4 separate regions of the Homo sapiens genome follow, and regions 2, 3 and 4 are each linked to region 1. Evidence: promoter capture Hi-C in human tissues and cell types (Jung and others, 2019). All regions are on one chromosome and are shown on one strand. Each heading gives the region's core, a stretch centred on a gene start or on the middle of the fragment in contact. The rest is flanking DNA. Distances are from core to core; before and after follow the strand shown. Region 1 holds the start of ARHGAP44 (Rho GTPase activating protein 44). Region 2 overlaps ARHGAP44 (Rho GTPase activating protein 44). Region 3 overlaps MYOCD (myocardin). Region 4 overlaps ARHGAP44 (Rho GTPase activating protein 44).

Evidence for each region. The method cuts DNA at HindIII sites, captures the fragments that hold promoters and counts their contacts. A contact is called where the count stands out against the background at its distance.
Region 2: a contact is called between a fragment that was not itself captured here and the fragment with the promoter of ARHGAP44 in region 1, in 2 of the 25 tissues and cell types used here (heart left ventricle and spleen).
Region 3: a fragment that was not itself captured here is called in contact with the fragment with the promoter of ARHGAP44 in region 1 in 2 of the 25 tissues and cell types used here (aorta and dorsolateral prefrontal cortex).
Region 4: a fragment that was not itself captured here is called in contact with the fragment with the promoter of ARHGAP44 in region 1 in 4 of the 25 tissues and cell types used here (dorsolateral prefrontal cortex, lymphoblastoid cells, spleen and 1 more).

Annotation. Positions count from the first base shown.
Region 1 is chr17:12,784,857-12,792,154 of GRCh38, reverse strand. ARHGAP44 (Rho GTPase activating protein 44) reads right to left here and starts at 2,657. Exons shown (of 21, transcript NM_014859.6): 1 at 2,264-2,657. The coding sequence starts at 2,316. It overlaps ARHGAP44-AS1 (ARHGAP44 and MYOCD antisense RNA 1), which reads left to right and starts at 1,871. Exons shown (of 2, transcript NR_104607.1): 1 at 1,871-2,012. RefSeq lists a silencer at 2,381-2,730. The HindIII fragment of the contact is 5,339 bases long and covers 1-4,685 here.
Region 2 is chr17:12,903,282-12,910,579 of GRCh38, reverse strand. It overlaps ARHGAP44 (Rho GTPase activating protein 44), which reads right to left. Exons shown (of 21, transcript NM_014859.6): 4 at 1,607-1,683. Among named protein-coding and RNA genes, the nearest start is that of MIR1269B, 10 kb to the left of the region's middle. The HindIII fragment of the contact is 7,296 bases long and covers 1-7,218 here.
Region 3 is chr17:12,675,870-12,683,167 of GRCh38, reverse strand. All of the region lies in intron 1 of MYOCD (myocardin), which reads right to left. The region is part of intron 2 of MYOCD-AS1 (MYOCD antisense RNA 1); the gene reads left to right. Among named protein-coding and RNA genes, the nearest start is that of MYOCD, 14 kb to the right of the region's middle. The HindIII fragment of the contact is 4,406 bases long and covers 1,715-6,120 here.
Region 4 is chr17:12,854,414-12,861,711 of GRCh38, reverse strand. The region is part of intron 1 of ARHGAP44 (Rho GTPase activating protein 44); the gene reads right to left. Among named protein-coding and RNA genes, the nearest start is that of MIR1269B, 59 kb to the left of the region's middle. RefSeq lists an enhancer at 1,701-2,040. The HindIII fragment of the contact is 5,749 bases long and covers 1-5,373 here.

The sequences.
Region 1 (7,298 bases), core at 1,408-3,907:
CAGTAAAAACGAAATCCTCAAGGTGGATATGAGCTCAGTGTGTTTGGGGCAAGAAAGGCCACACGGCTAGAGCTCCATGAATGTGAAGAGATGAGAATGGGGAGAAAAAGAGTTAAGAAAAAAGGCCAACCAAGGATGGTCCTGTAGAACCCTGGCAAGATATGAGATGCTAAGCACAATCAGATGTCGCTGGAAGCTTTTCAGCAGCAAGGTAACATGAACTGGTTTTTGCTTTAAAAGGCTTGCTCTGGATTTCATCAAAAGCGATACAGGCTGGCCCTCACCTGGCCCAGTGCACAACACAATGGCTACCAACGGAGAAAGGCAGAATTCATCCATAGGCCAACATCCACCAGAGCCCCAACAAAGAAGAGGAAAGAACCTCTTGGTAACCAGCTGCTTGGACTTCCAAGAACGTGCTCTCAATACCTAAGACCACTTTTTCTGAAATCCAACCTCCCCTCACCATTTTGCATTCCCCCCATGGATGAGGCTGAAAAATAAGATATGATGCCATGGCGCAAAAATCTCCCCCATTTAAAAACAGGTCCTGAAAAAAAGAAGAATTGTGTTTCAGGAAGGCCAGGGAGGAGGCATAAACATGTTCTGAACATTTAGATTCTAGCACGGCACTGAAACCCCAAGACCAAGAGAAACCAGCAACCCAAGTCTAGTGTCAGGGGCCTCCTGGTCACTTGGCTGGTCTGAGGTGATGGCCAATGCCCGCCTGCAGGGTGACGAAGAAGCCAAGACATTAAAGACGGGTCGGCTTGACTGTCATCTGCTAAACAACGAATACCAGGAAACACTATCTCGGCATCCAACACATCAAAAGGCAGTCCACGTGAGGCTATATCTGTGGCAATACCATGCCAGAAATCTGGGCTAATCTGACTCTGCTATTCATAAATTCCCCCTCATGTTAAAGCACATGTGTTTGGGAAGGAAAAATGAATCCAAGTCAATTTTAGACATTGTTACTTGGAAACCATCTGGAGTCCCTGGAAGCATAAGAAGCCACCGCATCCCCTGCCCTCAAATGCCCACTGTAACTAGGGCAGTATGCTCAGACGGGAGTTCAGATGTCCCCTATTCCCCAGGGATGTCCCCACCCCCATCCTACCAGATGCCAGTTCAGGCTCCACTTCCCACCCAAGAAAGGTATTCGGTTTCTCCGTAAACCTAGTGGAGAGCCCTCGAGGTGTTGAGCTTGCATTTGAACTGCACCCAAGGCTGGATTCTTTGCTTTCTGATTGCTTTAGAACAGCACACCTGAATTCCTTTGCCACAGCAGCAACGGAAATCCCTCCCCAGGAGTAGGGGTTCCAGGAAAAATCCCTTCTACCTAACGCTCCTGTGTTCAAAGAATGTCTAGTCTTGGGAGCGACCCACCAGGATTTTTATGTAACCTTAATAGATGTTGGCACCCTGCAGAGCCGCTCCTGGAGTCCAGATGTAGCCCATTTTCACCGTGATGGCAGCAGGCGGGGTCTTGCAGCTTCCCGGGGCCTGACTCTTCTGACTGTGGGGCCTCTGTCCCCCTCCCCTACCTGGCTGCGATTCTCTGCTTATCTCATCTTCCCGAGGACTTGGGCCTCCTTTTTGCAGCCTCCCTCCCTCCACTGAAATCAGTCCTAACATCAAGCAGGCAGCAACGCCATTCCACCAGCACCTTCCTTCCTCTCCCACCCCTCACCCTTTCCCCCCACCAAACGCCTTAAGAAACCCGGCCAGGAAAGTGATCCAGAATCTCGTACAGTCATAGTCCCTGAAAACAAACACGGCGGGAGGGGCAGGCCGACCAGGCCCAGCACTTTCCCTGGACCCGGGAGCAGCCCTGAACTCGGCGCAGGGGAGGGGAGGGAAGAGATCTCCGGAGACCGACTGCGGTTCGGCTGCCTCCAGCACAATCAGAGCAAACACCTGTTTCCAGGAAGACAGGCGGCCAGAGGGAGAAGGGAGTCCCGGGGAAAGGCAGGGAGGACGAAGCGAAGGGGCAGCCGGGGACGCAGGTAAAGGATGCGTCACACTTTGCGCTTGGCAACCGGAGCCCGGAGCAGAAGGCGGCGAGTGAGAAGAGCTCCGGGGTCTGGGAAGTTAGGGAGGAGGGGTCGCGCCTGCGAGCGGCGCCTGGAGGGAGCTGGTGCAGGGGAAAGGACTGAGGCAAGGAGGACTGGAGGCTGGGCGGGCTCCATCACCTGCGCGCCCCTGCGGATGCAGCCTCGCGGGCGCGCACCGACAGCGGTGCCCGCGGGTGACCTACCTGCCCACCGTCTGGTTGGCCAGCTGGCGCATGCGATTGAACTGCTTCTTCATCGTGGCCCCGCTGCCGCGCTAGCCCGGGAGCTGGGGAAGGACGGAGCAGCCCGGAGCCCGCCGCAGGGTTACATGGCTCCCGCGCGGAGCCTCCCGGGCGACGGCGGCGGCACTGCGGAGCCTCCGGGCGCCGTCTGGCCCGCGCGCAGCTCCCTCCCGAGGGCGCCGCCGCCTACTCCTCCCGCCGCGCCGCCTCCTGCCGCATCCCCCTCACGCGCGCCGCGCAATGCCCGGGGCAGAGCAATGCCTGGGGCCGTCCTCGGCACCGGCCCGCTCCGCCCGGGCTGCCTGCTCCCAGTCCCAGTCCGGCGCGGGGACCCGGGAGTCTCCGCAGGCTGGCTGGCCGGCTGGCCCGGCGGTCCCCGTGCGCCTGTGCGGAGAACGCCGTGCATGCCGGGACTTGTAGTTTCGCGCCCCGTGCCCACCTTTCCTCTGTCCAAAGTTTGCAAGGACAGTGGAGTGCGGAGGTGGGAGAAGGCAGCGTCACCAGCAGCTTTGCACTTTAGCGTTCGAGTAAGGGAAACGTTTTCCTGTTTTAAAAATGGCAAAGTGGGACCAAGAATACAACAGCAAATAAAGAAAGTGAGCATCTGTCTCTCATTGTATTTTTAGTGAATGTGAGGTATCAGTGTTCTGAATTCACAGAAGGGAGATTTATGCTAGCAGATACGTGGCTGATAAAACGGTCTAAGGTCACCTGATTAATGATGAGGTTCAAGGTTAAGCTTGAAACACAGGGGCTGACAGCAGATTTTGAACAGGCATAGCTTGCATCCCAGAAGTCTGATTCTTAATTTTTACCAAACCAAACCCATTAGGTAACCAGAAGCCAATATAGATAAGTGACGTTGTGCTTACTGGCCCAACCTGTCTGAGACAGCTTTTTTGTATGGCTTAGATGCCAATCTCGTATCTAGTCCCATTTCCCTTCCACCACCAGGAGACCAAGGGGCATCAGCTGCAGCACCCCCCAAGTGTCCTGCACCACAGCATCCCATTGGCGTCAGTTGACTCCTTGGAAGGGGTTGTGGCTTCTTTGGTCTCTATCCTTAGAAAAAGATAGGTGAGCCGGGCGCGGTGGCTCACGCTTGTAATCCCAACAGTTTGGGAGGCCAAGGAGGGTGGATCACGAGGTCAGGAGTTCGACACCAGCCTGGCCAACACAGTGAAACCCTGTCTCTGCTAAAAATACAAAAATTAGCTGGGCGTGGTGGCGGGCACCTGTAATCCCAGCTACTTGGGAGGCTGAGGCAGGAGAATAGCTTGAACCTGGGAGGTGGAGGTTGCAGTGAGTGGAGATCGCGCCATTGCACGCCAGCCTGGGTGACAGAGCTAGACTCCATCTCAAAAAACAAAAAAAAAAGAAAAGAAAAAAAAGAAAAAGATTGGTGATTGCAGTTAGGTTTTATCATTATATATCAAGGTTTTATCATTATATATCAAGTAAAAGCAGTATTGTTGGGTGTGAGGCACTTTGGATTAAACAGATAGGAGTTCCTGCATCAGAATTCCACATACCTGTTATATAACCTTAGGAAAACAGCTTAACCTCTCCAAACCTCTGTTTCCTCATCCCTAAATAGAAAAATATGCTGCCTGATCTTCAGTAAGAGAACTATTTGTTAAATTACAATAATCAAATTACATATAAATTTTCATATAGTACATTGCCGTATTCATTTACTACAAAATGATTATATTTAGCATAATAGAGAAAAATCCTGTTCATACAACAGAATTACTAATCTTATAAAGGAAGGATCTTCTTTGAAATAGGATATTTTGCATATGTTGATTATAGTTGCAAGATGTCCTAAATATGGCTCTAAGTATCTTGCTGGCTAGCTGAACAAAAAGTGGTTTGAGGCATGTCTTGGCTGAATGAACATGAAATCTTTAATTAATTGTGAATTTAGCCTCTGCTTATTAGGTCAGACAACTCCAGCCAGTGAATAAATGAAGGCATTATTTGCTTTTAACCAACTATGCTGTACCTATAATGTCAATATGATGTCTATATTAAGTGAAATTATTTCCATTTTGAGATTTTTTAAAAAGCAAAGTACAACATGCTTTTTATGTGTATAAACGGTAAGACATTAAGGTCACTGTATGACTTTTAGCAACACTATCTCTGGTAACTTCCAGAACTGCACTGTTGAATATAGTATCCCCTAGCCACATGTGGTTGTTGCAATTTAAGTTAATTAAAGTTCAAAATTTGGTTCCTCACTTTTGCACTGTTGGTGGGATTGTAAATTACTTCAACCATTGTGGAAAACAGTGTGGCAATTCTTCAAGGATCTAGAACTAGAAATACCATTTGACCCAGCAATCCCATTACTGGGTATATACCCAAAGGATTATAAATCATTCTGCTATAAAGACACATGCACATGTATGTTTATTGTGGCACTGTTCACAATAGCAAAGACTTGGAAACAATCCTAATGCCCATCAATGATAGACTGGATAAAAAAAAATGTGGCACATTTTCACCATGGAATACCATGCAGCCATAAAAAAGGGTGAGTTCATGTCCTTTGCAGGGACATGGATACAGCCATTAAAAAGGATGAGTTCATGTCCTTTGCAGGGACATGGATGAAGCTGTAAACCATCATTCTCAGCAAACTAACACAGGAACAGAAAACCAAACACCGCATGTTCTCACTCATAAGTGGGGGTTGAACAAAGAGAAAACATGGACACAGGGAGGGGAACATCACACACCGGGGCCTGTCGCGGGTAGGGGCAAGGGGAGGGATAGCATTAGGAGAAATACCTAATATAGATGATGGGTTAATGGGTGCAGCAAACCACCATGGCACGTGTATACCTATGTAACAAACCTGCACGTTCTGCACACATATCCCAGAACTTAAAGTTTAATAAAAAATAAAATAAAATAAAAACAGAATTTAGTTCCTCGGTCACCCAAGTCACATTCGAAGTACTTAAGAGCCACATGTGGCTAAAGGCTACTGTACTGGACAGCACAGATAAAGAACATTACTATCCTCTCAGAAAGTTCTACTTGTTAGCACTAATCCTCAAGAACTCTGGTAGCCAACTCCAATATCATGCCAGCCCCTGCCTTCAATCCCAAGATTTTTCCGTTCCAAAGGGAAATCCCTTTGGCAGCCTCCCCTGCCAGAGTGTGGTCCAATAATGTTTTATTAACTGGTGGCTTCTCCACAGATTTTCTGTCTTCCTTTGAATGCTTCCTTCACTCAGGAAGCAGCTAGTACATTTTCTGCTTTCTACCCCGGGGAAGGGATAATAGTGCAGAAACAAGAGCTTCAGAAACACATGTGACAGAATAGAGTTCTTCAAGAAAAGAGTTTTGAGTTTCCAGAATACAGGCTTTGGAGCTTTAATAGTCTATGTCAGAAATAGTAGATTATAAAGCATATATCATCCTGCTTAGTCTAAATAAAGAACCTACAGGCTGTGAGATGTTGAAGATGGTGATGGGGACTGGAAAGCGGGAGAGAAAGAGAGAAGAAAAGTAGATGATGCTTGTGCAGATACTATTAATGCCCAAAAAATTTCACTGCCAATCCCTATGGGAAGGACTCTATTTTACCTTACTGTTGAGGTAAAGATCGGTCATGTGATTTTCTTTGAACAATGAATATGCACAGAGGTGACTTTTACGCTTCTTCTGAGGGCAGAAGTTTCAGGAGTCATTTTGTGATCCTGCCCTCTTCTTCTTAACGCTGCCAATGAACCAGTTAGGGGATGCTGTGGAACAGTGATGTGGCCCCCCAGCAAAAGGTATCTTTGCTGTTTTAAATCAGAGGTTTGTTGCTGTAACATAATTGAGTCTAAGCTGACTGCTACAGTGGGTTTCTCTGAGAAAGTAGCATGCACCTTGCTTTTACCCATGGTCAACAATTAGGTTGGGGGCAGGCAGACTGAAGACAGATATATCATATCGTTTTGGGGCATCTGAGCACAGTGGAGAAGCTGTACACCACTCCTGGAGTGAAGGCTAGGCATGGCCAAGCTTGTGGAGATCCTCTGCCTTCTAAGACAGAGGACCAGTAAGACATCTATATGAAGTGCCTCAGGTACCCATACCACAGGCTAGTGGCAGCCCCAGAGCTCCCTGCACCCAAGCCATGTGCGATGATTTGGTGTCTGCATGTGTGCTGTGAGGATACACAAATGTACCTGAAACAGCTGGATGTGAAAGCTATTGAGATCAAAGATGATGATCAGGAGGAGGAGGCAGCATTGGCCAAGATGGAGATGGAATTGCCTAAAACTTAATTTTTGCCACCTAGAAGAATAGACTTAATATAAAATTTAAATGTATTTGCAAAAGAAGAGGAGGAGGTGAGGAAGGACGGTGGGAAGGGGAAAGAAGAGGAGAAAAGAAGAAAGAAATTTCTATGTCTTATATACCTAGCTTTGACCTATGGGAAGATTACACTTCCCTGCTCCTGTTGACCTTGACTTTGACCTTGTCACTTGCTTTGGTCAACAATATATGGGCTTCTTACTTGCTTCAGCAACATTGTAGTACTATTTGTCTGAGATATGTTCCCTTAGAAATCTGATACTCCATTTAGAATCCCCTGAATTAGAATGGTTTTAACCTCTACTCTGAGAGCAAGCATTCACTAGAGCCACCTGGCCAACATGGGAATCATTAGCTACATGTGGTTACTTAAATATTATTTTAAATTAGGTTAAATAAAACAAAAATTTCAGTTTTTCATTTCAAGTGCCCAATAACTACATGTGGCTAGTGGCTGCCGTAGTAGAGAATGTAAAATAACATTTTCATCATCATAGAAAGCTCCATTGGACAGGGCTGGTCTACAGAACAGAATTCAGAATAACCTCATGTGTCACTTAATGACAGGGATATGTTCTGAGAAATACATTATTAGGTGATTTTGTTGTTGCAAAAACATCATAGAAAGTACTTACACAGCCAGGCGTGGTGGCTCACGCCTGTAATTCCAGCA
Region 2 (7,298 bases), core at 2,321-4,820, 120 kb before region 1:
CAGCTACTCGGGAGGTGGAGGCAGAATCCCTTGCACCCGGGATGCAGAGGTTGCAGTGAGCTGAGATTGCGTCATTGCACTCCAGCCTGGGTGACAGAGCAAGAATCTATCTCAAAAAAAAAAAAAAAAAAAAGGCTACATAAGCCCATGTTCTATCCTTTGATCTACTCATCCCTGAGTTCTTCCATGTGTATGTACTACACATTTTAATAAAATTTATTTGCTTTTCTCCTGTTAATCTACCTTTTGTCAATCTAACTTTCAGGGCCCAACCAAAGAACCTAAGATGTTTAGAGAGAGGAAAAAAAAAAAAAAAAAAGTTTCCTCCCCTACAACACAATCTTTTTCCTACCTTGGTACTTGTACTTCTCATCTTTCTTCTGTTTCTGTGAAAGAGATGTAATCTATTTCATGTAGCCTTAACTAGTCCTTTCAGTGAGAATATGCAGGTAGTATCTTCTTCAAATCTGCCTGAAAATATCCTTACTCTTCCCTATTTTATCATAGAATACTAGGTTTCTTACATTTTCGCTCAATACTTGAAGATATTACTCCATTATCTTCTGGCATTCATTGTGGCTGACGAATACATAGTTTGTTAACAGTTTAATTGCTATTTTATAGTAATGATCTTTTTTCCCTCTGGTCAATTTTACATTTTTCTATTTTTTGTTGATAATCTGTGGTCTTACTACAATATGTCCAGGGATGCATTTTTTTCTTGTTGATCTCAATCAAATCATTTTGTGCTCCTTAAATCCAAAGACATGTTTTTCTTTAAATCTGGAAAAGAAAAATTCAACCACAAACTTACCTTTCTCCCTATTTTCTTCCTCAGGAATTCCCACTAGATGGAATGTTAAGCTTTTGCATTCTATCACCCATGTTTCTCAGTTTAAGAATGCCTACCTCCTTATCTCTGCACTTCATTCCCTTCATTCTGGGTGGCGGCTCTACATCTGTTTTCAAGTTCAGCAATTATTTATTTGTGTATAATCTTGAGTTTCTTTTGACTAAAGATCATTGAAAATTTTCAGCATAATTTTGGAAAGTTCTCTTTGGTTTGCCTTCAATCCCGCCTATTCTTTTTTAATATTGTTTGATTCTCTTGTCAAGGATTCTGTTTTTTAATTTTAAAATTTCCATTTAAATAATTGTTATATTTTCTTCCATATAGTTCTATTATTTTTCGTTCTCAGGGTACTGACTCTTCTACTGATTGTGTCTGCTGATGCTCTCTCATGACGATTCTATTTTCAGTTTGTTTTGTTGTGAGCTCAACATCGGCAAAGGCTGCTTTTCTGAGAATCTCGTAAGTTCTGACATTTGAATTGACAGGTTTCATATTTGCTTCTGCTAGGGCCCTAGGGATTTCAATTGTCCTTCATCAGTTTCATGTTAATCTCTCCACTTGGGCCTTGCCTCACCGCACAGACAATATGACTTTAGAGCCAAGAGTTCTGATTTCCTACTGGTAACATTTTCCTTTTTTCCACTAAAGTCCCCAGTGAGAATTCAGGTGCTTCCCTGAGAGGGTCTAGTCCCCTTTTCACGGATGGGGACTTACTTAGATTTGGCACCAAACTCACGCAAGGTGTCACCTTACCCAAGAAGTGTGTCATCTCCCAGGATAGCTGACCCCTCCATCAGACACTGAGCCAGTGTTGTCAAAGGCAACTTTTTCTGAAAAGAAAGCAAATGCTGTAATGAAAGCTACTTTCCATATTCATCTGTTGAATCTAAAATAGCAAAAAGTCAAATACTTGCCAAGGTATTATATTAACTATGAAACAAGCTAACTTTAAAATAGGTTTAAACATAGAAATTCATAGTGCACCATGATGGGTTAGACTTAGAGATGTCAAAATTCAGAAAACGAGAACTGAATTATATTTGCCACTTTGGGAAATAAGCCTAAGGCTTACATGCTGCATTTTAAAATGAGGTAGGATGGCAAGAAGGAAAAATGAGAAAAATTTAAAATGATGTTAACAAAGATTTGAGCAATGCCTTAATTTCCAAAAATAATATGTCTCTTAAGGAGTGTATTAGCCTTATTTTAAAAATGAGGCAGTGGCTGGGCGTGGTGGCTCACACCTGTAATCCCAGCACTTTACATGAGGCAGAGGCCGAGGCGGGTGGATCACCTGAGGTCAGGAGTTCGAGACCGACCTGGCCAACATGGTGAAAGCCCGTCTCTACTAATAACATAAAAATTAACTGGGTGTGGTGGTGCATGCCTGTAATTCCAGCTACTTGGGAGGCTGAGGCAGCAGAATGGCTTGAACCCGGGAGGCAGAGGTTGCAGTGAGCCGAGATTGTGCCACTGCACTCCAGCCTGGGCCACAAGAGTGAAACTCCATCTCCAAAAAAAAAAAAAAAAAAAAAGAAATGAGGCAGCTATGGTCAAAAAAGAGACAGAAAAGTGTTCACATGCAATTATAACCCAGAAAGAGTAAGCATGAAAATAAAGACACACTCCAAAAAAGATAGATGGCCAAAGAGCACATGAAAAGATAATTAACCTCATTAGTCATTAGGAAAACCCCAATCAAGACCTCACTTTACACTCACTAAGATGGCTATAATAATATTAATGCTTAACAAAGCAAAAAAAAAATAAGGATTGGTGAGCATAAACCTTCATGCATTACTAGTAGATGTTTAAACTGGTGCAGCACTGTGAAGGTGTACTTAGTATCTCAATAAGTTAAGCAGAATTATCACATGGCACAGCAATTCCACTCCTGGGTATATATCCAAAGTAACTGAAAACAGATGTTCAAAAAAGAGGTACACAAATGTGAAGAGCAACACTATTCACAAAGGCCAAAAGGTGGGAACAACTCAAATGTCCACCAATGAATAAATGGACAGACAAAATGTGGTATATCCATAAAATGGAACATTATGCAGCCATGAAAAAGGGAATGCTGCATGGTACAACACAGATGAATCTTGAAGACATCATGCTAAGTGAAATAACCTAGACACAAAAGGACACATATTATATAAATCTATTTAATGAAATATCCAGAATAAGCAAATTCACAGAGACAGAAAGTAGATTAGTGCTTGTCACAGGGCTGCAGGGGTGAGTAAAATAGGGAAGGACTGCTTAATGGGTATGGGGTTCCCTTTGGGGATGATGGAAACGTTCTGGAACTAGATAATGGTGGTAAATAGACTAACTGTTAAAACCACTGTACACTTTTAAATGCTACATTTTATGTTACAGGGAGGGAGAGACAAGCTGTGATAGGAGTTTAGCATGATCCGTTCCCCAGGCTAAATATCAAAGAGCTCTCTCCTTTCTGAACTAAGACCAGCCAGTACACACAGACAGAACAAAAACAAGGTAAGAACCACTAGCACCTTCTCAGGTCTTCCAGTCTACGTAGCTACAAAGGTAGTTCTTCAAAAAGAAAGTGACTGAACTACACCCAGCCCAGAGCCTCCTGGTGTTAACACATAGAGCGTTTCCACTTATAATTCATTTACTAATCCAATATTTATGGAGGGCAGGCACCAAACCAGTGATAAACAAAACTAGACACTGCTCTCATAGAACATTTTTCTTTTCTCTTTTCTTCTTCTTTCCTTTTTTTCTGTTTTTTTTGTTTGTTTTGTTTTGTTTTTTGATACAAGGTCTGGCCCTATCTCCCAGGCTAGAGCACAGTGTTGCAATCATAGCTCACTGAAGCCTCGAGCTCCTAAGCCCAAGCAATCCTCCTGCCTCAGCTTCCCGAGCAGCTAGAACTACAGGCATGCACCCCCATGCCTGGCTAATTTTATTTCTAAATTTTTTGTAGAGATGGTGTCTCACTATGTTTCCCAAGCTGGTCTTGAACTCCTCGGCTCAAGCAATCCTCCTGCTTTGGCCTCCCAAAGTGCTGGGATTGCAGGTGTTAACCACCACACCCAGCCACAGAACTTACTTCTAATGGTGAAGATAAATAATAAACATCATCATACTTTGCCCTAAGTTTACTCTTTTCATCTGGCTGTTCATTTGTATCCTTTATAATATCCTAACTGATAAATACAACTAAAGTGTTTCCCTGAGTTCTTCGAGCCATTTTAGCAAATTATCAAACCTGAGGAGGGGAGTTGTGGGACCCCTAATTTATAGCTGGTTGTTGAGAAATACCAGAAGGCTGGATTTGCAATTGACATCTTAAGTAGGGGCAGTCTTGTAGGACTGAGCCCTTAACCTGCGGGATCTGACACCAACTCCAGGTATACAGTGTCAGAATAAATTGCAAGACATACACCTGGTGTTCAGAGAGTTGGGGAACTGCTTGGTGTGTGGAGAAAATCCCCCCACACATGTGGTCACAGAAGTGTTATGTAAGTGTAGACAAACAGAGTCTGTTTTTCAGAGAAGCAGGCATAATATTCCAGTTGTAGCCTCACAGAGAGGGCATAACTTAAGGTATTGGTTCTCAACCAGGGGTGATTTTTGTCCTCCTGGGGTCATTTGGCAACATCTGGAGACATTTCTGATTGGCACAGCATGGGAGATGCTATTGGCATCTGATGGGTAGAGGCCAGGGATGTTGCTAAACATCCTACAAGGCACAGAACAGTCTCCTCCAACAAAGAATTACTAGGCTCAAAATGGCAATAGTGCCATGGTTGAGAAACCTGGTTTGATCTGCAAGTGTCTACAATACCTCAGTGACAAGTCAGTGAAGATGCTTCGTCTTGAATGTCAGATGGTACGATCATAGTATTGATGAGCTCACATAAAAAGACCATTCTGGTTTGTGATAAACATTCACAGTCCCATGACCTGCCATCAGGACAAGACTTCAGCATTTCTGAATCTTTCTGAAATTGGACAAAGAAGAGAGGATTTGCCTATAGTAAAGGGGACTTCTGATAGTCCAAGAGTTGACATCCTTTGAAGAAATACATCTACCAGAAGGTAAGTAGAGTTTTTCCAAATATGGAAAAAGACTAGTCAGATTATCCTGTCAGTGAGTGGAGCAGAAAACTGTGCCCAAGGGGGACCAAATGAACGAAGGTCAAGATCAACAGGACAAGACCGGCCACTGGAGGAACATGAGGTTGATCGGACTTTTGGAGGGAGGATGGAGAGGGGACAGCCAGGCAACTGTTCTGCAAAGTGCAGACTGGAAAACACAGTTTGAAGCTATAGGGCTGGAGGCACCCTGCTCCTGAGCCAAGGAAGCTACATTTTCTCATCATTTTGAGTCATTTAACACCTGCACTAATGATTTTGACATCCTCTTAGGTAGCAGAGAGGACAGAATTAAGTGAATTCTTAAGGGATATGCTTTTTAATTTTAACAAGGAGCATAACCTCTCCCTCCTGCCCTATCTCATTCTCTATCATATCTATTATAGGAAAAGAATTAATTTGCCAGTAATCCCAGCACTTTGGGAGGCTGAGGCGGGCAGATCATGAGGTCAGGAGTTTGAGACCAGCCTGGCCAATATGGTGAAACCCCGTCTCTTCTAAAAATACAAAAAAAAAAAAAAAAATTAGCCAAGTGTGGTGGCACGCCCCTGTAGTCCCAGCTACTTGGGAGGCTGAGGCAGGAGAATTGCTAGAACCTGGGAGGCAGAGGTTGCAGTGAGCTGAGATTGTGCCACTGCACTTCAGCCTGGGTGACAGAGTGAGACTCCGTCTCAAAAATAAATAAATAAATAAAACTAAAAGATGCTAGAGGATTTATAGTAAAAAGTCCCTCCCACACTCACTCATCCCTCAACCACTTCATTCCCCTCACCAAAGACCCTAATAGTGACCAGATTTTGTGTATCCTTTCATAAATATTCTAAGCAGATTCAATTATACATACATGTGTGTGCGTCTACTTTTAGTATTTCTCCCCACGTTAGCATACTAAATATACACACCACTCTGTGCCTTGCTTTCCTTTTCACATAGAGATAGATACCTTTCATATCATTTCCTATCACTACCTATGGAACTGTCTTGTTCTTTTATTTTAATGGTTACACAGATCATTGAATGAAGATGACAAAATGTATTTACTCAAGTACCCTACCAATGGTGTAACTGTCACTCTAAGAGGAGAGATGTTAAGGTGAATTTGAGAGCTTGGATTCCAAGGTGGGGGTAAGCTGGTGAAAATCAACATGAGTTTTTATTTGTGTAAATGCTTTAAGAATCAAGAAATTGGCCGGGCACCGTGGCTCACGCCTGTAATCCCAGAGCTTTGGGAGGCCAACGTGGGCAGATCATGAGGTCAAGAGATTGAGACCATCCTGGCTAACATGGTGAAGCCCCATCTCTACTAAAAATACAAAAAATGAGCCAGGCATGGTGGCATGCACCTGTAATCCCAGCTACTCGGGAGGCTGAGGCAGGAGAATCGCTTGAACCTGGGAGGCAGAGGTTGCAGTGAGCCGAGATGGCACCACTGCACTCCAGCCTGGGTGACAGAACGAGACTGTCTCAAATTAAAAAGAAAAAAAACAAAAGAATCAAGAAATTACAAGGAAGCCACCAAATGACAAGAGAAAGGAAGAAATGCGTTAGCAACCCCATAATCAAAGACAGTACGTAAGAAGAAGTTAATGGACTGTAACGCACAACAGACTACAAATGATTTCTCTTTCTAAAAAGATTCTCTAAGGTGAAGGGACTTTATCTGCTCAAGAGATGCCAGGCATTGTAGCAATCTCATATAACCTAAGATTGCCTCTAACTAAGATACTGTTTGCTCTCTCCCTCAAACTTTGGTCGCCCCCATTTCAAGTATAATGATATCCAGTCTTCTACAGAGGCATAAGAATGATACAATGGACTCTGGGGACTCAGGGGAAAGGGTGGGAGGAGGGTGAGGGATAAAAGATTACACATTGGGTACAGTGTACACTACTCAGGTGATGGGTGCACCAAAATATCAGAAATCACCACTAAAGAACTTACTCATGTAACCAACACCACCTGTTCCCCAAAAACCTATTGAAATAAATTAATTAAAAATTTTTTAAAAGGATATCCAGTCTTAGAAGAATTAAATTGCTCAAAAATCTAGAAAAGCTCCCAAAATCTTTTTCCCTCCAGTACCAAGGATCCACACTGACAAAGCCAGTCCCAATCCCTGGTAAATATTAGTGCCCAGGTAAAAAGATCTTAGCAAACTTCATGCTGCCAGTGATTTTCAGAGCCAAAGAGGAGCTACTGAAATAATTTTTCTCCCTAGCTCTAGAATGCAGATAGAACCTTGAGAATTAAGGGAAGGAAAGACAGACTGTCCCAGAGTTTCGATATAGTCAATCTGACATTTCTGAGATGA
Region 3 (7,298 bases), core at 2,668-5,167, 110 kb after region 1:
AGTCGGAGGTGGCCATTTTCACCCACATGAATTGGGAAACAAAGCCAGTCAATATTGCGGGAGAAGATGGAGCACAGAAGACGGCCAGAAGAGTAGCCTGAGAGTGTTCAAATCCCCAATTCCAGCTTATTTCCACCCAAGTCGCTAATACAGTCCTGTCGTTCAGTTTGATGAGATACCCCAGTATGTTTATAATAAGTGTTCCTTTTTGCTTAAGCTTGTTCAGGGTTTCTAGTGTTTGATTCTCTATTATTTGCAAACAAAGAGGTTCCATATGATAATTGTTGAAGAGGGGCATCCCGTGGTGGCAGAAAGCTATCAGCACAACCAGGTAAAGCTTTGAGATCTACTTTTAAATCCTGTTCTACCAATCAAAGACTTCTGGGTATGTGGATGCAGGTGTTTGTAAAAGTGAGCAAAACGTACACTTCTGACAGAATGCACATGGCAGTTATCATACTTAGGACCTGGGTTAAGAAGTGTTGAACAGCAGCTTGGATGGCTATTTATGATGCATCCTCTCCATATGGTGCCAGGTCAAGATCACAAACCCTGGATACAACAGAGCATGAGCCCCCTGAAAACTCTCTCCGCGAAAAGGGCAGTGGTACCTGTTTATAATTTAGTCTTTTACCTTCCCTTTTCTGTTGAATCCTACCCTAGGTTTAGCTGGACGCATCCTTATATGTAATCTTTGACCTTGACATTATTGCCTTCAAGGACACTACCAGGCATAGGTCTTTGGGAAAGCTATTGGCTGATGAATGGATAACTTCCTAGAAAGTAACAAGCAGGACCACCATCAGAGGCTTCTGGTCTCCTCCAGAGCTGGAAGCTGATACTGTGTGGCACACATCATATGTACAACTCTCCTCTGCTCTTCCTGTGCATGGTTCACCCACCAAATTCTTTCCTTTGCCTGGCATTATCTGACTCTAGGACAAAGCCACCGTTCCCCACCAGTGGCCCGTGTCATCTGTGGGTCTGACATGTTCCTCTTTGGGGTACAGAAGCATCGAATTTCCCGGTAAAGAGAAGAGGGTGGCTGACAGAATGCTTGGAGAAGGTGAAATGAGAGACCTGGTTATCTGCGTCGGTCTTGCCCTAATCCTGGCCACATTTCCCAAACAAGGCTGAGAGCCAGGGATGATTTTTGTGTGGAGTGCTAATGCCTGAGCTCAATTTGCTCCTTGCCTTCTGATTCCAGGTACCAATGATAACTGTTCCCTAGCCAAATGTTGCCCTGCATGCTGTTATCTGTTGTATTCACTGACCAAGAATAACATAGGCCTGACTGTCTGCTCATCTACTGCAGGGAGTACTCAGAGAGGACGAGGTGAAAATGATGATCAGGTCACTGAGGTAGCCCTCGATGGTCTCAAGGAACAAGGTGAGCTCTGAGGGGTGCTGGGCTGGCCTGGCCTCAGTGACTCTTACAGGAGAGCACTCAAGCAGCGGGGGCTGAGACCAGGTACACACTGTTCTTTCTTCATCCTAAGGGATGTCCCGGCTCTGCTTCCTTTAGGGAGATTAAGAGATATGAATTCAGGCCAGCATCTAGTGCTGGGCATTTGGCGAGTCAAAACCAAGAGAATACTGAAAGCCAAAAGGCTCGGTCTCAGAATTACCATGCAGTGATTTCAATGATTGAGCCTCACGCATGGGCTCAAGTTGTTTTAGAAAGATGTCTGTTCACACGAACACTGCGAAGCTATTCTTTCCCTAAGCACCACACTCTCAGTTTGTCAAAACATTTGAAGAAGACTAATTCATGCCTCAAAAGGAATTCTCTCTCACTCACAAAGCTGCCAGGTTTGTGAGCTTGAGGCTTTCATGTTAAAATAACTCAAGACACTAGAGGAATAGGGAAGAAAAACCTCAAGTGGAAATGCCTTACGATGTCACTAAGAGGGCAGAATCCACAATTCACATGCTCACCGGGAGGATGGGGTGGCAAAGTCAGATGGCTCAAGCCAGCTCTGACTGGTTCGGATACTTGTGCGAAGCAGTACAGGGTAGCAGTCACAAGCATGGACTTAGAATCCAAAGGTGCATGAGATCAAGTCCCAGCTTTTCCATTTACAAGGCATGGGATTTTGAGATAGCTCCTTCAGCGCTGGAGGCTTGGTTTCTTCTTCTATGGATGGGAGGACTGTAACAACAGTACCTCCTTACAGGATTGCTGTAAGGATTAAATTAGTTAGCACACGCAGCAGGCATGTGAGCATCAGATAGTTCTTGGGGTGCTCTATTGGGGTGTAGGGAACCTCATCAAAACCCTCTCCAAGTCAGGGAGGACTGGGAAGCAGCTGACAACACTGTCACTACAAGTGTTCAACTAGCACGGCTGTTCAGCCGCGGGGAACTTTTCCTTCCATCACAAACAGGTCCCTGAAGTACAGAACAGAAACTCGGCAACTGACATAAACAATTTCAAACAATAATTTCAGAAGACAAATTGCTCCATTTGGGCACCAAGATTCCTCTCTGAGGCTTTCCCCACTTGTTTATGTATTCTGTGGCACAGAGCCATGAGTGAATTAAGCAGACAGCGCGCACACACGCCCGGGGCCGGTGGGAGGGGCCTCCGGGAAAAGGACCTGCCATTTGACCTGCGTTCCTTGAAAGCTATTGCTGCAGAGATGCCTGAGACAAAGGGACTCAGATTTACGCCTTCTTGTGTTCGCTTGTTCATCGAGAGAGGCCACAAGATTGGGTGCCAGGAGATCTGAGTTCAAGTGCTTCACCATGCTGTATGTGTAAATTCGGGCAGGTCATTCCCGTTTCTATACCTTAGTTTCCCATCCCTGTAAGACAGACGTCATTATACTCACCTCTAGGGTAATTATAGTGGTCAAATTAAGAGCCCTTTATCCCTAATAAATTACCATACGAAGATTAATGAGGTTAACCGTGGGCATCCACTAAGTAGCTGAATAAAAATTAGATATAAAGGAGAATTAGAGTTTGGAAGAAAGGGTGTATTTTATGAGGCAAAGAAGTTCTTCTAAAATTAAGAGGAGAGTCTTCATTCCATGGGGCTGTGGTTCTTGAATACAGGTTTACGTTCTTTTGAGAGCCTAAGTGAAGCTTGTGATATATACTATTCTATTATAGCATTTAAAGCATGTATTGCCTTTTCTGACTATAAAACAAGTGCGTGTTCATTATAGAAAATTTGAAAAATGTATAAAAGTTTCAGGATGAAAGGCAAAATTAATAGGAATTCAAGTCTGCAGAGATAAGCAGCACCTGCTAATACTTTGCCTTTTTTCTTCTGATTCATATACCTGAACATGGATATAAAAAGGTACCTACCCTACAATTTCTCAAGAATTGGGACTATATCATATGCAATTCTGAAACCTCCTTCTTGCATTGTAAACATCTTTGCATCTCATGATCCTCTGAAAACACGATATTTAAAGTGCATGTTAAATCCCATTTTTTATGTATTTAAATATTTTCTTTTTGTTAACCAACTCCAGTTTTTCCCTCGGTGTTACTGTAGCACATATACCACTGCAAAGAGCATCCTCAAAGATAATCTTTACCTCTCTCATACTATATATATGTTATATATCATATACAAACATATGCATATACATATATATAAATGTAGGTATATTAACCATTCTTTAAATGTTAGAAAATAATCCTGGCTCTACTGTTAGACACAAGGTTTTGAAACAACCAAACATGATGCTTGAGAATACTTTCTGTCTCTGGGACATTCTGTAGTGTCATGCTCTAATCTATGTGTTAAGAACACAATCCTTTGTGAAGGCTGCATTTCTACTAAGCCAGGGATTCCTTTGCTATCCCTATGCCTCATTCTGTCCTCCTCTCCCAGCCAATCCTGAGTTACATTTGCTGAATTTCCATCTCCCCTTCTCATCTAATTCTTTCAATCTTGAAGCCAGTGCAGATGGCTACCATGTTAAAATAAAAAATTAAATTAAAAAAAAAGCTTTAAGCAGACGGACTGTTAGGTTGAGAGAGGAAATAGGTTAAATGCCAGGCATCTGCCTATCTGAAAAGACCATGTTCCCTTGGGCTGCGCATTTCTCTGGGGGACCATGTGGTAAATTTGGTTTTGCAAGCCCCGAGACGAGAGTTCTAGGTCTGAATCTGCTGGGTGACCTTGAGCCAATTTCTTAATGTTTCTGGAAACTCAGTAACCTCATCTGTACAATCAAACTTGTAATCTCACAGAATTGGTAGAAAAATATCACGAGGTCAGGAGATTGAGACCATCCCGGCTAACACACTGAAACCCCATCTCTACTAAAAAAATACAAAAAATTAGCCAGGTGTGGTGGCAGGTGCCTACAGTCCCAGCTACTTCAGAGGCTGAGGCAGGAGAATGCCATGAACTCGGAAGGTGGAGCTTGCAGTGAGCCGAGATCGCGCCACTGCACTCCAGCCTGGGTGACAGAGTGAGACTCCATCTCAAATAATAATAATAAATAATAATAAGAAGAAAACAAAAAAATAAAAATATTAATGAATATGATCTTTTTTGGTGGGGGAGAGAGTTGAATACATCAAAGAAATAAGAGGTGCTATAATTTGGCAGACTGCCTCCAGCTGTCTATCCTCAAAACTTTGTTTTCTCTCTCTCTCTCTCTTTGGTTTTATATTTAGACAGAACAGCATTCTCAATTATAAGAGAAGAGGATCTGGGCTCAGCCATGAGCCTTTGCTGGTCCTCATAGCATGTAATGATCTTGCTGAGACCCAGACAAGGCTTGGCACTGTCTTCAGAGGCATCAAAAGACCAGATCCAGAATAAAAACCACACCTCACCGGAGAATAAGTTTAATTATTATGCCTTTTCAGTTTTTTTTTTTTGAAAGGAAAAGAATAAGTGATGATAGATATATAAAACACTTTGCAAAATACAATATAAGTTATATAATGACAATAATTATCTTCATAACTCTCAAGCACAATCTGGGGTAAAAAGAAATGATAGGCTGGGCGCGGTGGCTCACACCTGTAATCCCAGCACTTTGGGAGGCTGAGGCGGGCAAATCACGAGGTCAGGAGATCGAGACCATCCAGGCCAACATGGTGAAACCCCATCTCTACTAAAAATACAAAAATTAGCTGGGCGTGGTGGTGCACGCCTGCAGTCCCAGCTACTCGAGAGGCTGAGGCAGGAGAATCGCTAGAACCTGGGAGGCGGAGGTTGCAGTGAGCCAAGATGTTGCCACTGCACTCCAGCCTGGGGACAGAGTGAGACTCCACCTCAAAAAAAAAAAAAAACAAAAAAGAAAGAGAAATGATAATAGCTGGGCAGTGAATCTTAAGAGAAATTCATGAGAGGCTGGTCATTGTGAATTTAGAATCAATATGATATCTTATAATAACATAAATAATTGTAAATTAACATATCAAAGCATATTGATATAAACATTGATATGAGAATTAATATACACTTTTTTTTTTTTGAGACAGAGTCTCACTCTGTCGCCCAGGCTGGAGTACAGTGGCGTGATCTCGGCTCACTGCAAGCTCAGCCTCCTGGGTTCACACCATTCTCCTGCCTCAGCTTCCCTAGTAGCTGGGACTACAGGTGCCCGCCACCATGCCCGGCTAATTTTTTGTATTTTTAGTAGAGATGGGGTTTCACTGTGTTAGCCAGGTTGGTCTCGATCTCCTGACCTCGTGATCCGCCCATCTTGGCCTCCCAAAGTGCTGGGATTACAGGCGTGAGCCACTGTGCCCGGCCTATAAGTTTTTTTTTAATTTTTAAGTTTAGGGGCACATGTGCAGGATGTGCAGGTTTGTTACCCAGGTAAACGCGTGTCATGGGGGTTTGTTGTACAGATTATTTCATCACTCAGGTATTAAGCCTAATACCCATTAGTTATTTTTCCTGATCCACTCCCTCCTCCCATCCTCCACCCTCCGACAGGCCCCAGTATGTGTTGCTCCCCTCTATGGGTCCATGTGTTCTCATCACTGAGCTCCCACTTGTAAGTGAGAACATGTGGTATCTGGTTTTCTGTTCTTGCATTAGTTTGCTAAAGATAATGGCCTCCAGCTCCAACCATGTCCCTGCAAAGGACATGATCTCGTTCTTTTTTATGGCTGCATAGTGTGAATTAAAGTATAATTAATATTCATGTGTGAATAAGATAGCTACCATTTATTGAGTACATCAGCACATCCCTGCACTATGTCAAGCACTTTTTATATGCTTTTCCACTAAAACCTCAAAAATTTCCAATGAAGGAGGCATTCTTGTTTCCACATTTACACATAGAAAAGTAGAGGGTTGAGAGCTTAAAAGCATGCACTCGAGTTCATATCATACAATCAATAAGGATGGAGGCCAGGATTTGAAGCCAAGTCAGCCAGATGGCATACCTATACCACATATACATTGAGATTTTCCAACAAAAATTAATAGCAGAGTTGTGGGTTTTCAGTCTCTTAGCTAAGAAGCAAGTTTCATTGGTTGTATTTTGAGTTGTGAGCATGACCCAGGATTAATGAGAATTTGAGAACAACTTAAACCTCCCATGGCCTCAGCCAACTCCTGATTTAGCTGCTATGCAAATATGGTATTGTTAACCCACTCCCCATCACTCCATATCTTAAAAAAAAAGGCAAATAATACTCAGTATAGGAGATACTGGATAATTGTAATCAAGAATATAAGAAAGAACATAAGAAAATTTAAAAATTACTGATAATCTCACCACCCAGAGCTAATCATTTTGGGAATGGATCCCTCCAGGCTTTTTTCCATGCATGTGCTTTAGCACTTTTGGTATGTTTTGATTCTCAACTTGTTGGGATTAAAGTTTTTTAACTTTTAAAAGAAATTTCTTTTTTTACTGTCTTATGGTCAAGACATTTCTGTGTGTGTGTGTGTGTGTGTGTGTGTGTGTGTGTGTGTGTGTGTGTGCGTGCGCGCGCAGGGGGAGGGTGCTAAGTCTAAAATTGTATTCTATATCAAGTAAGAGGATTAAAATATGTAATCAAATTTTATTTAGTGTCCACGTCCTCTAAATCTTCACTTAAATCTTTGCCTACTTTATTAAAGACTTACAGATACGTTTTTTTTTCCCCACCACTATTAGGATGTCAATTTCTTCTTATGTTTTAGGCGTATTTAAAAATTATGTAGATACGAATACAGTTTTATTTTAAAAGATGCAAATGGTAAAGGAAAGATAAGGTCTTGCTCTCTGTACCCATGGATACCATAATGAACAGTTCTACTTATATCTTTGAAACTTCTTTTTTCTGTGTACTTATATATAAATATGATTGATTGATTG
Region 4 (7,298 bases), core at 1,250-3,749, 70 kb before region 1:
AGTGAGCCGAGATTGCGCCACTGCACTCCAGCGACTGAGCAAGATTCCATCTCAAAAAAAAAAAAAAGTGGAAGAGGAGGCAGAAGAGGAATTCAGAGGGAGATGTGACCAAAGAAGGATCAGAGCGATGTGGTATGAGGACAGCACAACCCAGTGCTACTGGCTTTGAAGACGGCGGAAGGGGCCACAAGGCAAACAAAGTGGGCTGCCTCCAGAGAAACCTGAGAAGTCAGGGAAACTAATTCTCCCCTAGAGCCTCCAGAGAGCAGCAACATCCTGCTGCCATCTTGATTTTAGCCCAGTTAAGACCTGTGCCAGACTTCTGACCTCCAGAACTGTAAGATGATAAATTTGTGTTGTTTTAAAGTCACTAAGTTTGTGATAATTTATCATAGCAGGAATAGAAAAACAATATACCATGGCCAGGCACACGGTGGCTCACGCCTGTAACCCCACCCCTTTGGGAGGCCAAGGTAGGCAGATCGCTTGAGCTCAGGAGTTTGAGACCACCCCGGCCAACATGGCGGAACTCCACCTCTATAAACATACAAAAATTAGCCAGGTGCAGTGGCTCACGCCTGTAACCCCAACACTTTGGGAGGGCGAGGTGGGCAGATCATTTGAGTCCAGGAGTTCGAGACCAGCCTGGCCAACATGGTGAAACTCCATCTCTACAAAAATACAAAAGTTAGCTGGGCATGGTGGTGCGTACCTGTAGTCCCAGGTACTTAGGAGGCTGAGGCACAAGAATCACTTGAACCCTGGAGGTGGAGGTTGCAGTGAGTTGAGATCATACCACTGCACCAAGAGTGACAGAGCAAGACCTTGTCTCAAAAAAAAAAAAAAAAAAAAAAAGAATAGAAAAAAACCATATACCGATTGGTCCAATTTGATTCACCTGCTCTGCGTGAATCAATGATTTTGGCTAGACCCAAGTCACATCCCTTCCCTGAATCAAAGGGTGAAGTTAGTCCCACTTACACCACACGGCTCAAGAGTAGGGAAGGGATAGCTCCTTGAAGAAAACCAGGGGCTATAACCAGAGAAATGGGGAATGGAAAATAAGCAGGAAAATAAAAAAGATATCCAATCTATATGAGGACAAATGAGAGGGCCAGAAAAAACCCTGGATATATCAATAGATGTATCTGTAGATATTGTAGAGATAGAGCTTCACCATGTTGCCTAGCACTGGAAATGCTGGAGATAAAACTTAGGCTACTGATGACATTCCAACTTTGCTTCCCTCTGAAGGTCACAGCTTTTGAAGAAAGAGGAAACACCAATAAATGGAACAGCCAAAATCCATGGATAGAGGGTGCTATATAACAAGCCTGCACTTTCCAGACAGTTATCTGACAAGAGACAAGAGGGTATATCGCAAATGCTATTGTCAGGAGCCTTGTTGACCTTATAAGGAATTCTTTAAAGTATAAATTGAAGTGGGGAGGGAAGAATAGCTATATAAAACTGAACAGCTGGATAATGTCAATGTATTAATTATATTTTCCTACTTTCTATATTCTTGATGCTGTGGCATTTGGAGTCTGTGGACCAAAGAAACTGCCCCTCCCAGGATTAATTAATTCCTAGAGGTAACAAGTAACTCACTTGTGGGCATGCCTTTGATATGCCAACCAACTACTTGGAGTCCAGCCCTCCAGGAGTCTGCTTTTCTGCTAGGCAGTTCTTCTGCCCTAATCTCCACGGAGCCAGGTACAACTAGGGACCACCCCTATAGCCCAGAGCCTGCTTCATAGTAAATTTTTTTTTCATGAACCACAGAGATTTAAGCTTGACAGTGAACTTCTGCCACGTGTTGACTTTGCTTTGCCCACTCCTTTCGGTGTTAACTGCAATCAAGGCTAATGCGTGCAGCTCCCTCTTTCCGTGCCTGCTCATGTGGCTTTGGTGCTTTCCCGTGTGGCCCTGAATGGGCTCATGTGCTTACTGTTTCTTGGCGACTGCGAATGTAATAAAACACTTCTTCCTTCCTGGCAATCGTTTTTGCATCTGTGTGTATTATACCTGCTCCAAACAAGTCCTGGGTACATTTATAGAACAGCAAAAGATGGCAGATATGACTCAACAAGAATAACAATGAGACATCTCAGGAAATATTAAGAGAGAATAACAGAAGAGTCAGGAAACAATCTTTAGGCCCCAGCGCCAAACCAAAATGTGGGCAGTAAAGCAAACTCGAAATCTTAAGTGATGATGAGAAGATGGCTTTTCACACTGACTGATGGAGAAACGGGTTCATGCCAGGAAAAAGGGGGCAGATCTAGGACTTATAAAAGGCTCCTGTATTAGTTCCCTATGGCTGCCATAATGAAGTACCACATGCTAGGTGGCTTAAATAACAGAAATTTATTGCCACACAGTTTGGCAGCCCAGAAGTCTACATTCAAGGTGTCAGCAGGGTTGGTTCTTCCAAGGGCTGTGAGGGAGAATCTGTCCCAGGCCTCTCGCCTAGCTCGTGGTGGCTGCAAGCATTCCTTGGCTCGTAGATGGCATTCTCCTTATGTTGTCACGTCATCTTCTCACAGCACATGTCTGTCTCTGTGTCCAAATATCCCATTTTTATAAGGATCCACAGTCATATTGGATTAAAGCTGATATGGTCTGGCTGTGTCCCCACCCAAATCTCATCTTGAATTGTAGCTCCCATAATTCCCATTCACTGTGGGAGGGACCCAGTGGGAGAGAATTGAATCATGGGGGGCAGTTTTCCCTATACTGTTCTCGTGGTAGTAAGTCTCATGAGATCTGATGGTTTATAAGGGGTTTCCCCTTTCACTTGGCTCTCATTCTCTCTTGCCTGCCACCATGTAAGACGTGCCTTTCACCTTCCACCATGACTGTGAGGCCTCCCCAGCCATGTGGAACTGTGAGTCCACTAAACCTCTTTTTCTTTATAAATTATCCAGTCTTGGGTATGTCTTTATAAGCAGCATGAAAATGTACTAATACAAAGGCCCACTCTAATGGCCTCATCTCAATTTAGTCATCTGCACAGACCTTGTTTCCAAATAAGCTCACATCCACAGATACTGGGGGATTAGGTCCTCAACATCTTCTAGGGGAGATACAATTCAGCCCACAAACCTGTAAGAGCTTCCTATCCCTGGGAGTTATTTTTCTTTAGTTTATCCTAATTTGCCCCCTTTTGCTACTTTCAAGGTAAAACCCAAAATGCCCAGATAAGGCTGTGGACTTAAACTTTTTGAAAAGGGCCTGAGAAGGTTGATTTAGTCTGACCTCATGCTTACAGATACAAAAGAATCCTTGCACACCTGCAAGATCCAAGCCAATGTGGTCACAACTGCAGCCAGTAATCTGCAGACTTTCTTAATCATCCATCCCAGGTAACTGAGGTGACAGTGAGTAGGGGTGTGGTTGGAGGATTTTAGAGTCCACATGACTAACAGAGGGCAGGGTAGGTAAAGAAAGGGAAGGAGATGGGGTTGCTATATACACAGTTCCCATATTTGGCTGACCTGGGTGTCTTCAGAATAGCAGACGTGGTTGGAACTTTCCATTCACAGGATTTCTGTGCCCACACACTATGGACTAATACGTAGCCAAAGGCTTACTACAGACTTGGCATAAGACTTAGTCCTGTTCTTCCTTCCAACTGCGAGTAAATGCTGGTATCTCAAAATATACATATACAAGAACCTACTGGGTTCCTTGCACAAGAGTATCAGTGGTAAGGGGATGAGCAGGATTAGTGGCAGCCAATCCTCAAGCCACTAATAGTGGCTAAGGTGGTCTAGCTTATTAGTGATCCAAGTCCCCAAAAGCAGATCTTGTCCCAAATCAGACATAATCTTTAGCAACACCTAGTGATATCTGCTAACTAAATCTGCAAGTCCCCTTTGGAATGGGGCAGGATATAAATAAATAAATAAATAAATAAATAAATAAATAAATAAATAAATAACATGGGCAACCGAAGCAATAAAGTTTGTGGTGGTTGGGGTATCCTGTTATGGAAAATACGGTCACTAGTCATTTCCTATAAAAGACATCTAGCTCCAAGCTATTCTACCATAATAGAATAACTTCACCAGGACAACTGCATGGGAAGGCCATCTTTTTCTTCCCCAACTTTCATGTGCTGGAAACTTAATTCCCAAATTCATTATGTTGATTGGAGGTGGGGCCTTTGGGAGATAATTAGGACTAGATAAGGTCATCAGGATGGGGCTCCCATGATAGGACTGGTGGCTTTATAAGATGAGGAAGAGTGTCTTGAGCTGACATGCACACTCTTGCTCTCTTGCATGTAACACCCTCTGCCATGTTATGACACAGCATGAAGGGCCTCACCAGATGCTAGTTCCATGCTCTTAGACTTCCCAGCCTCCAGAACCATGAGCTAAATCAACCTCTATTCTTTATAAATTACCCTCTTTATTCTTTATAAAATACCCAGTCTGTGGTGTTCAGTTAAAGCAACAGAAAATGAACTAACGCAGACCTCATCAGCCACTTCGGCCTAAGCAGGAAGGATTTAACCAGATCCTTGCACATGAACAAGCACCCAGGAGAAGGAGATGAAAGTGGATTGCCAGGGACTTGGAACAGAGGTCTGTATGATGATTAATGGCTTTGCACTAATTAGCAACATGTCATTGAGGTTTAAAGTGCTGAGGCAATTTATATATATCTAAAATGTGGCAAGAGGTGGGAAGAGAGAAATTTTGCTTGAAAAAAGTATGTTCATTATACTTCTAATGACATATTATTTTCAGAATACAAACTACAGAAAGTAAATCTCAAAATGTGGGAAAGGACAGGGATACACAGAAAGAGCAACAAGAATGCATTATCATGATCAGGGTCTTTATTCATTAGAAAGCACCAAAACAAACATTAAGCTTTCACTAAGCATCAGATTGTTAAAGCTCGACATTCATTTAACTTTCACAACAACCCCTGAGGTCAGGACTATTAATAACATCATATTATTGATGGGGAAATTGAGGTTTTGGCAAGCTTACAAAACTTGTCCAAGGTCACAAAGCTTGGAGAAGCAGATTAGGAACCCAGTCTGACCTCAGAGGTCACTTTCATAACCCGTATGTTATAACAGCCTTTCAAAAGTTTAGAAATGCAGGCAATCCCCAAATAAAAACTTCTATGGGGAAAGATAGTGAGGACAGGCATGCAAAAATAAACTTCCCTTATTTCACAATTGCCTAGGGCCAACTTCCGATATTTTCCTACATATAGTCATACTGCTTTTAAAAAATAGTAGAAAATTATTGCTCTAAGCCTACCTGTAGGGAAGCAGAGAAGAAGGGTATTTATCTGCCATGCTCAACAGACTTGAGATTCATCTGCCCTAAAACCTCTGGAAGCAGCCACCCCAGAGACAATGTGACAACTCTCATCCCTGAAGCCAGAGTTGATTGAACAAGGTAGGATGCACAGTTTACTAGATTCCCCTGGGATTTTAAAATAGGAGAGGACAGTTAGTGGGGCTAGACCTGTAAGGGCCAGTGGCTTCAATGGACCATCTACAGAAAAATCTACAGGAATACAGGTGGTGAGGACAGAAAGACAGAAGAAAATAGGAGATGTGGCCCCTCAGCTATGGAGAAGCCTTGGCTCCCAACAGTGGTTTATCTCCCATTGCGGGGATACCGGCTATCATTAGGGTGTAGCATCACTAAGAATGTCTACTGCTGAGTCCTTTTAAGAAGCTTACTTTTTCTTAAAGCAGATTGAGGGTTTTGTGTTGTTTTGCCTTTTGCAATCCAGGGCCTTACCTGGAGCTCGACCACAAGCATGACTTTTTTATCCAGACACCCTGCCCAACGCATTTCAAAGCCTTATATCCACACTGTCTCTGTTATTTTTGTTTCTGTGTTACAATAACATCTTCCATTTAGTGCCAGAGCTCTGCTAGACACTTCATCACACAAGTGTTTCTCAAATCTTCAACATTAATCGCTCACTTAATTGGACTTCTGTAGACAGACACTCAATTTTAGACAAATTTTAATAAACAGTCCAAAGAAGTATGGGAATTGGGAATAAATATAACTGGGTCCATTGGTTATTCAATAAATAGTTTTGGGGCAATTGGATATCCATTTGGATATGTTCCATTACTCTGACCACCCACCCAGAAAAATAAATAGGAAATGAATTAAATTAGTTGTAAAAAAAAATAAAATGCTGAAAAAAACATCAGGGGAAGAAAATGAAGATAATGTAGAATCTTATGGTGAGAAAGGCCTTCCCAAGCAGGACTCCAAATTTAGAAATTGTAATGAAAAAAAGAAAGACTTCCTGACACAATTTTCTTACATTGCTACAAGATAAATGGTATTATAATAAATGACAAACAATAGACTGGAAGAAAATATTTGCAACTTACACAACAAAGGACTAATTTCTCTTTGCAAAGGTCCATTGTAGGGTTTATTTGTTTGTTTGTTTATTTATTTATTATCTTTAGAGATGGGGGTCTCACTATGTTGCCCAGGTTGGTCTTGAACTCCTGGCCCCAGAGATCTTCCTCTGGCAGGGTTTATAAAGCTCGAGGTGAAATATGAAAGAACAATGCTGAGCAGATTTCTTTTACCCACCCAGTGTGCAAGGTGGTCTTCTACTGCTGAACACCTAAAGTAATCCTAAAGCCTCCCCTTCCTGTCCTTTCTATATATATCTATATACATATACAGACATGTGTGGACATAGAGACACTGCTTCTTTTTTTTTTTTTTTTTTTTTTTTGAGACAGAGTTTTGCTCTTGTTGCCCAGGCTGGAGTACAATGGCATGATCTCGGCTCACCGCAACCTCCGCCTCCTGGGTTCAAGCGATTCTGCGGCCTCGGCCTCCCAAGTAGCTGAGATTACAGGCATGCGCCACCACGCCTGGCTAATTTTGTATTTTTAGTAGAGACGAGGTTTCTCCATGTTGGTCAGACTGGTCTCGAGCTCCCAACCTAAGGTGATCCGCCCGCCTCAGCCTTCCAAAGTGCTGGGATTACAGGCATGAGCCACCGCGCTCAGCCAAGACACTGTTTCTTTTTGGCATAACGGGTTCATATCCTCTGCACTGTTCTGTGACCTGATGTCTTCCATAGAGCATGTCTCAGAGATCTTTCTATGCATCTACTTGTAGGTCCACCTCACTTTCTTTATTAGTTGTGTCAGAAACCACTAACTGTATCATCATTCTTTTATCTTCTCCAGTGGACATTTGTTTCCAGTGGTTCACTGTTGTAAATGATGTACCCATCAACATCTTACACATTAATCTTTCTGCATACCTGTC